2 separate regions of the Homo sapiens genome follow, and region 2 is linked to region 1. Evidence: promoter capture Hi-C in human tissues and cell types (Jung and others, 2019). All regions are on one chromosome and are shown on one strand. The core of a region is centred on a gene start or on the middle of the fragment in contact, and the rest is flanking DNA. Distances in the headings are between cores, read along the strand shown. Region 1 holds the start of SOAT1 (sterol O-acyltransferase 1). Region 2 overlaps LOC105371631 (a long non-coding RNA gene).

Region 1 (4,128 bases), core at 600-3,099:
TGGGACCATAGGGGCCTGCCACAATTCCCAGCAAATTTTGTTGTCATTGTTGTTGTTGTTGTTGTTGTTTTTAAATTCTGTAGAGAGGGAGTCTCACTATGTTGCTCAGGCTGGTCTTGGACTCCTGGCCTCAAAGTGATCCTCCTGCCTCAGCCTCCCAAAGTGCTGGGATTATAGGCTTGAGCCACCTGTTTGTTTCCTTTCATACCTAGTCCTGCAGAACATAAGCCTCTAAGTGCAGGGGCTTCTTCTGTTTATTCACCACTGTATTTCTAGCACCAAGAATACTATCAATATTTTTTGAATGAATGAATCAAACAGTGAAAAGGCCAGTCATCTTGGTGTATATAGAAGGTAGCCAACAGAGACCCAATAGAAATGAGTGCCTATGTTCCTACTGCTCTATAACTAGTGGGAGTGGGGAGGGGAAGCAGCTGGGGGTCTACCAGACCCTGTCACCAACTAGTCAGCACACGTGGCAATCACAGTTGTAGAAGAGGCCAAACGGAGCAGATCTGCCAATGACAGCCAGTACTAAACTCGACTGGATGCTGAGGGCCATTTCTGCTTTGAGTGAACAGTGCAGCCTGCTGGGTGGCCAAGGGAACGTGTACAAATCCACTTTGTTTAAAGGACCCAGAGAGTAGTCAGTTCTGCTAAACCTCATCTGTTTGTTCAGGGATTTTTGTCCTGGGGAGGAGTGGGGAAGAAGCGATTAGTCAGGCCAGGCTAGCTGGTATTAGTTTGCAGGCTGTGAGTGCGACTCTTCAGTCTCTGCTCCTCTCATCATTGCCTTTTCACCTACCTTTACCCTAAATTTACGTACACCTCTGCCTTCACAAATTCCAAGCGATTAACTGTTGTATTTAATCTCTGTCCCAAATCTCTCTGCATCATTCTTCTTTTGATTATGAAGTCACGAGGGCCCTTTGTTTATTTTATTTTTAAAACTTTTTTTGAGAAGGAGTTTAGCTCTTATTGCCCAGGCTGGAGTGCAATGGCACAATCTAGGCTCACTGCAACCTCTGGCTTCCGGGTTCAAGCAATCCTCCTGCCTCAGCCTCCCGAATAGCTGGGATTACAGGCGCGCGCCACCAAGCCCGGCTAATTTTTTGTATTTAGTAGAGACGGGGTTTCACCATGTTGGTCAGGCTGGTCTCGATCCTAACCTCAGGTGACCCAGCCACCTCGGTCTCCCAAAGTGTTGGGATTACAGGCGTGAGCCACCGCACCTGGCCTCAAGGGCCCTTAAATATTACTTAGTTGTTCCATTATTTGGTGTGTTTTATTATTTGGTGCAGGTTTTTTCCCCTTATCTAGTTTGAATGTTGCTGAAGGACGCTGGTTTTCAAACGGTAAGGAATCTCCTGATAAAGGCACGAATCTTGGTGTGCAGATAAGCCAGCGATTCTTGCTTCTGGCTAGTTCTACGTTGTTCCTGGATGGTCAGTTCAAACTGCAATGATCCACAGCTCCAGAAGCGGCTTCTTCCAGTCGGCCTAGGAGCCAAACGCCCCTGCAGCTCCATGCTACCACGCAGGGTGCCGTTTCGGGCTTGCAGGGAGTTGTCGCAGTCCCGTTTTGGCTGCACATTCTACTGCTGGGGTGGAAGTGTCAAGCAAGATGTTGTCGCCGGTATCATGATGTCCGGGTGAGAAGCTTCCTTGGCAGGTTGCCAGGGCCAGCCTGCGAGCACTGGCGCCGGGGACCCGCGCGCCCGGGAAGGGGCGGGGAGGTGGGCGGAGCCTGGCAACCTGGGGACCACCAATAGGATGCTCAGCCGGAGGTGGCCCTGCGCGTGACGCAGCGGTGCTCGGAGGCAGGGGGCGTAGGGGCCGGGCTGTCCGGCGCTTTAGCTTAGCAGGCGACGTTGCGGGCCCTGGGCGCCAGGAGAGCTTCCCGGAGTCGACCTTCCTGCTGGCTGCTCTGTGACCGCTTCCCGGCTCTGCCCTCTTGGCCGAAGTGCCCGCTGCCGGGCGCGGGCCTCAGGTAACGGTGGTGCTCCCGCGCCTCTCCTCGCTTCCCGCTTGGGTCCACCGGCCTCAGCCCGCGGGGAAGGGAGAAGCGGTGGCGGCAGCAGCTCCGGCCCGGCCTTGTCCTGGGCTGTGCTGCGGAGAAGGCGAGGCTCGGCGACTGCAGGGGAGTTGGGGAGGGGAGGGCGGGAAAGTTACCGTCAGGCGCCCGGGTCACGGGCAGCCTTTTAAACCCTGCACGCTGGTTTGGTGTTCCGCAAATCTCGTGGCATCTCTCAAGTCAGTAGTAAAGAAAGTTAGGAATTAGAAGACGTTTTATTCTTTAAAAAGCGAAACCAAAAATGCACTCAGGAAGTCAGCTTTTTAATGATTTAGAGAAAATGTGTGAAGGGAAGGATGGTATTAGCAAGACATGAAAATCTGTAGGGGCACCAGAACCTTTAATCAAGCTCATGTTTTATTGTAAAATATTAGGATGTAGGTAAGTTTCTGTTTTCCCTAAGTGTTAATGGTCATGTAATTTAAATAATATGTATATTGAAAGGTTATTTCTAAGTGAGAAACAACTATATAAACTTTATTCTCCGTATATATATTTAGGTTAAGTTCGTTGGTCACTTTTGTTTGTTTGAGACGGAGTCTCGCTGTGTCGCAAGGCTGGAGTGCAGTGGCGCAATCTCGGCTCACTGCAACCTCTGCCTCCCGGGTTCAAGCGATTCTTGTGCCTCAGCCTCCTGAGTAGCTGGGATTACAGGCGTGCGCCACCACGCCCAGGTAATTTTTGTAGTTTTAGTAGAGACGGGGTTTCACCATGTTGGACCAGGTTGGTCTCAAACTCCTGACCTCAAGTGATCCGCCCGCTTCGGCCTCCCAAAGTGCTGGGATTACAGGCGTGAGCCACCGCGCCTGGCCTGTTGGTCACTTTTTAATATTTAAGTGGCTGCCACCTGTTTAAACCACTTTTTTCTTTTTTTCAGCCTGCTTGATTTCCTCTTCCTTGAAGTAGAATTCAATTTGAAGCTTTTTTTTTTTCTTTTTAAAAGTTGGGCGGTGTCAGTGAATGACTTGTTAAGGAAGTCTGTGCGTTGTCTGGGTGTGAGAATGGGTTTTGGAAGGAGCTCTGTGGCACTGAATTATCGTTTAGAAATGCACGTGTTTTAGTGAATCACATGCTTAGAATGCATCTGAGGTTTCGCAGTCTTTTAGGATAAAGACCTACTGAGTGAGCACACTCTATCTCTGGTTCATTTGGCCCACTTTCCTTCTGGCTTTCCAGGTTCATGCCACACTGGCTTTATTTTTGTTACTGGAAAGCTTCATTTTCTTTCCTCTCTTGGCTTTTAGGAGTTTCCTCCACCTCTAATGCTGTATTCTCTCCCTCCCTCCAACTCTTATACCTGCCTCAGATATCAGCCCACATATCACTTCCTCTGGAAATCACCCCATCCCCATTAAGCCCTCCATGAACTCTTTATTCTCCTTAGCAGAAGTTGATCATTAATTGTAATGAATTAGTTGCTTTGTTTCCTCTGCTAGTGCATTTCATGAAGGCTGGTTTAGCCTGTTGTAATTTTCAGGGTCTGGTCCAGCACTTGGCCCAGAGAAAGAATGAATAAGTTGGTGGACAGAGGAAGGAACTTTTGAATGAGAAATACAGTGATCCCCACTTAACTGCTTTCTGTAGTTTCAGCTACCTGAGGTGCGAAACAGAGTACAATAAGACATTTCGAGAGATACCATGTTCAAGTGAATTTTAATACAGTATATTGTTAATCTCTTACTGTGCCTAACTTTTTGAAACTTTGCCTCCCAGGTTCAAGGGATATTCATGCCCCAGCCTCCCAAGTAGCTGGGATTACAGGCGTGTCCCAGTACGCCCGGCTAATTTTTTTTTTTTTTTTTGAGATGGAGTTTGGCGCTTGTTGCCCAGGCTGGAATGGCACGATCTCGGCTCCCCGCAACCTCCGCCTCCCGGGTTCAAGCGATTCTCCGCCTCAGCCTCCCAAGTAGCTGGGATTACGGGCATGTGCTACCACGCCCGGCTAATTTTTTTTTTTTTTTTTTTTTTTTTTTTTTTTTTTAGTAAAGACTGATCAGATCTTACTGGTCAGGCTGGTCTCGAACTTCCAACCTCAGGTGATCCACCCGCCTCAGC
Region 2 (4,387 bases), core at 260-2,759, 770 kb before region 1:
CATAACTTGATTGATGATCAAATGTCTCTCCCACCTCCTTTCTCATCAGTATTCATATGGCAGCTTGTTATTCCTCCCAGGTAAACTGGTTGAGAGGGAATATAAATTTGTTTAAGAGGTACCAATGTCAACTTTGCTCTAAAGCATCATGAACTTGGCCAGCTGCGGTGGCTCATGACTGTAATCCCAGCACTTTGGGAGGCCAAGGTGGGTGGATCACCTGAGGTCAGGAGTTTGAGACCAGCCTGACCAACATAGAGAAACCCCATCTCTACTAAAAATACAAAAATTAGCCTGGCATGGTGGTGGGCCCCTGTAATCCCAGCTACTTCGGAGGCTAAGGCAGGAGAATCACTTAATCCCGGGAGGCAGAGGTTGCAGTGAGCCGAGATTGCACCATCGCACTCCAGCCTGGGGGACAGAGTGAGACTCCATCTCAAAAAAAAAAAAAAAAGAAAGAAAAGAAGCATGAACTTGACCAGTGGCCTCAAATCACGGTCTCTGGCAGGTGACCCCAAGCCTTGGACTCAAGCCCTGACCTGTCACCCAAGCTTGGATCTACCTGTTGTTTCAGGGCCTCATCATCCTGTCAACTTCAACACAGCCAAAACCAAACTTCCCCGTGTCCCCAAACCCTTCTCTGTCTGACTTGCTGATGGGAGTCCTTGTCTTTGCTCAGTTCTCTGACAGCTAGAGCACAGGCTGATCTCCAGCCAAAGGTTGGACCTCATCCCCCCACAGGGCTTTCACCAGCCTGTCTGTTTGCCTGTCCACTTGGTGCCCTGGACTAAACATCCCTGGAGGAAACCTGGAGTGCTGTGGAGCTCAGAGCCCCCTGCCCTGAGCAGCTGGTCCCAGAGCTCCTTTGGTTATTTTGAGGATTTCTGAGAATACAGGTAAAGTACCTGTTACAAAGCTTCCTCTTTCCTCTTCGATGGCTTCCTCCATGACATATCTTTGATGGCTTCTTAGGGCCTTTTCCGAAGAGCTGAGGATGAAAAAAGAGGATGTGAGTCCCTTAAGGGCAGAGACTGTGTAGAATTCATTGATTATGCCCTGCCCCTGCCACTTGATGGCTGCGTGGCTGTGGAGAGCATGCCCTTTTTCTGCCCTTGGTACCACGTTAGTCATTAAAGCTTCACATCTTCTCCATCTCCCATAGCAAATGAGCACCTGGGTCCCATGGCCTTTAACCATTTCAAATGTTTATTCCTGAATTCTCCCCTCTCCCATACACACTCTAATCCAAGCTCTTAGTGTCTGGATCCTGAGCTATGTCCAGTAGCTTCTGACCCAGTCCTCTTGACTCCAGGAGTTTCTTCTCACAGCCTGGAATCCATTGTCCACGCCACTTCCAGAGATTTCCTCCCGAACTACTACTTTACTCTGCAACTCACCGTCTTGCTCAAAAACCATCCCCAGGGCTGATTACTGGTGGGATAACAGACACACTCTTTAACCTGCCGTTCAAGGCCTTGCATTTCCCATATTATTTTTCACCTTTTCTCCCCCGTTCCTATCTGTAAACCCTACACTCTAGGGTCCCAAATGTGCCCTTCACATTCCCATATCCTTGCCTTCACTCCCCTTCTTCTCTGAGCTCCAGGAATCTCCCATCATCCCCGCTGCACTGCCCTCTGCTCTAACAGCTCCTCATTGACCCAAGGAATAGGTCACTCGGCCGTGTAGAGGTGTTTCCCATCTTACTGTTCCAACCTGCATATGTCTTTCCTCTCCATGCAGATTGTCAGTTTCTAGAGGCAGAGCTTATGCTGTCTTCATCTTCATCCTCAGCATGGTGGTCAGAACCCTGCACTTGGCAGGGGCTGAGGAAAAATTTTTTGGTTGAACTTTTGCTGCCTAGCCTGACAGATTCACATGTTGGCCCTTCTGACCCACTCCTGCCCTCTTGGCTCTGTGGCCTTGGGACTGTGGACATCCCCGAGGGTCCTGGGGTGCCAACAGGGGTCTCCTGTCACATGGAGCCCTCCGGGACTGTGCAGGTTTGGGGGCGATCCCAAGAAAATTCTCCATACTATCCAGTGTCCATCCCAGATCATATCTGGAAATATACATACATCACCATGGTGCCAGGCTGGCAGACGGGATGAGCAAGGCTGCCTCCCAGCCTACGTAGGTGCCAGTTTTAAGAACAGAAGCAAAGTCATCAGGGAAACTGAGCTGCCACAATCTGCTGAGGCACTAACTTCTTTATGGAAATGATGCTGCAGCTCTAATTCAGTGCCGAGGACTGGTGGCAGTGGTCTCTGCCTTCCCCATCCCTTGATCTTTCCCAAGCCCCCTCATGCCCCAGTCCCATGTCACCCAACTCACAGGCAACAGGACATCTGTGTGTGTTTCAGGGACAGGCTTGCCTGGCTGTCAAAAAGCTGTTTCCTGTGCCCCTGGGGAGAGACCTGCAGGGAGCCACCGCCAGACGTTCCTGCTGACACTGCGCACAGGCCAGCTTTACTGGCAAGCTTGTGCTTTATTCGTAGGTCTCAATGTCACCTCCTCTGGGACAGAATGATACTTAATTTTGTCTCTTTTCCTAAAAATACTATTCCTGTCCTGTGTACAGAGCCATGGTGGGCATCTCCCTGACCCAGGCCCCTACTTCTGTGCCATGGGACCCTGCCCTCCTGGACATAATCAGGAGCCGGTTGACTGGACCGGGGTGGATGCCAAACCCAGCTCACCCAGTTGGATTCCTTTCCCTGGGGATTTGGAACTGGAATTTGGTGAGAGCTCAGTTGGCCCCAGAATTGAAGATATGTAACTGGGAGCTGGGTTGCCATCTGCCACCGTTAGCTGAAGATGCAGAAAAAGCTGATCTGTTGGAAAAGAAAACCAGTTCACAGAAAGAGAAGAATGAAGTGGAGGAGTGGAGGGAAAGGCCCTGCAATCCAAAGAGGGGGCTGCAAGAGCCACTCTCCGGGTCCCAGGCCCTCTTGGTCCAGTTGTAGTTCCCACCTTAGCTCTGAGGGACCCCCTGGCCTCTTGGACTATATCACCCATTCCTGTTTAGGCAGAGTGGGCTTCTGTTATCACCAAACAAGCCTTAGCTAAGGCCACACAGAAGAGATCTTGGAGATGGTCTGGTCAATCTCTTCCATTTACAGGTGAGGGGTTTGAGGTCCAGAGGTGTGTGGCGAGGCGCCCTCCGCTGTGGCCAGGCCAGGACTACAGCCCAGGTTTTCTGGCTCCCGGCCCAGCACTTTGCTCCCTTTGCCCTGTGGCCCTCTGGGGCCAGCAACTCTTTTAGAGATAGCAGGTGAGATAGGAGGAGCTCAGAGGTCACAGCCAGCCGGATCCAGATACAAATTGGTGGATGCTGCAGACACGTTACTTAGCCTCTCTGAGACTCAGCATATTCCTCCAGAATGTAGGGGTGATAACATCTAGTTAATAGGAGTGTTGTGAGAATTAAATGAGTATATATGGAGGAATTAGATTTTTTAAAAACTGTTGTGTTGACAGTAACCATGAGGTCAGAGTTGCCTTTCCTGGATCAAAGGCCTTCCATTCACAGACCCAGTTTTCTGACACATTGACTAACACTTATCATGTCGAGGCCTGCAATGAAATGAATTTTGATCTACCTTAAAAAATAAACAAATGACTTACAGTTATTTTGAGAGGAGGTAGGAAATAAAATAATAGGAAAACGTGAGTGGGTGGGGATCAGGACTGGCTATTCTAGAGGACAGGGGTGGGTCCCTTGTAACACAGCATCTCACTCCTGTCAACCTGGTGGCCAATGACAACAGAGTGAGGGGCAGTTGGCTCACCCCAGCCCTCCCATAGGTAACAGGTGCGGCAGCCCCAGGCCTTGACGCATGTGGTCATCAGAGAAACATGAGGGTGAGTCATCTGGGAGCAATTAAGAGGGGAGGCCCAGGAGGAGGCCAGACTGTGTCATCCATCCCATCACTGCCACAGCACTGGCCCAGTGCCCACTCACAACATTCCTTCTCCTGGGTCACAGGCCACAGGCCAGCCCAGAAGGTGGCTGAGGATGGGCTCAGGCATCCAACACTTCTGACTGGGGCCCAGATCCATCTCTCTTAAACTCAGCAGCTCTGAGGATCCCCCAATTCCATGGCAACGGGCTGCCTACCCACCTTCCCAAGGGGTGCTACTCTGACTTGCCACAGTCTAGTCTCAGCAAACTGAAGCTGTCCTTTAAAAACATAAATTAGAACATGTCACTCTTCAGCTCAGAACTTTCCAGTGTTTTCCCACTTCTCTCAGAGCAAAATGCAAAGTCAATGGTTCACAAAGCCCTACAGGATCCGCCCTGCTGCCTTCCCCATCCCTAACCCTGTACAGTATTTCACTTGCACTTTCTAGCCATGCTGGTTTCTTTGTTTTTCTTCAAACACAA

Evidence for each region. Contacts are between HindIII fragments. The study calls those that stand out against the background at their distance.
Region 2: a fragment that was not itself captured here is called in contact with the fragment with the promoter of SOAT1 in region 1 in 2 of the 25 tissues and cell types used here (lymphoblastoid cells and mesenchymal stem cells).

What each region holds. Positions count from the first base shown.
Region 1 is chr1:179,291,948-179,296,075 of GRCh38, forward strand. SOAT1 (sterol O-acyltransferase 1) reads left to right here and starts at 1,850. Exons shown (of 16, transcript NM_003101.6): 1 at 1,850-1,989. RefSeq lists a silencer at 1,645-1,834 and an enhancer at 2,047-2,554. The HindIII fragment of the contact is 6,238 bases long and covers 760-4,128 here.
Region 2 is chr1:178,526,314-178,530,700 of GRCh38, forward strand. It overlaps LOC105371631 (a long non-coding RNA gene), which reads right to left. Exons shown (of 5, transcript XR_922310.3): 2 at 2,700-2,834; 3 at 1,717-1,826; 4 at 906-988; 5 at 1-85. Among named protein-coding and RNA genes, the nearest start is that of C1orf220, 14 kb to the right of the region's middle. The HindIII fragment of the contact is 4,114 bases long and covers 1-3,566 here.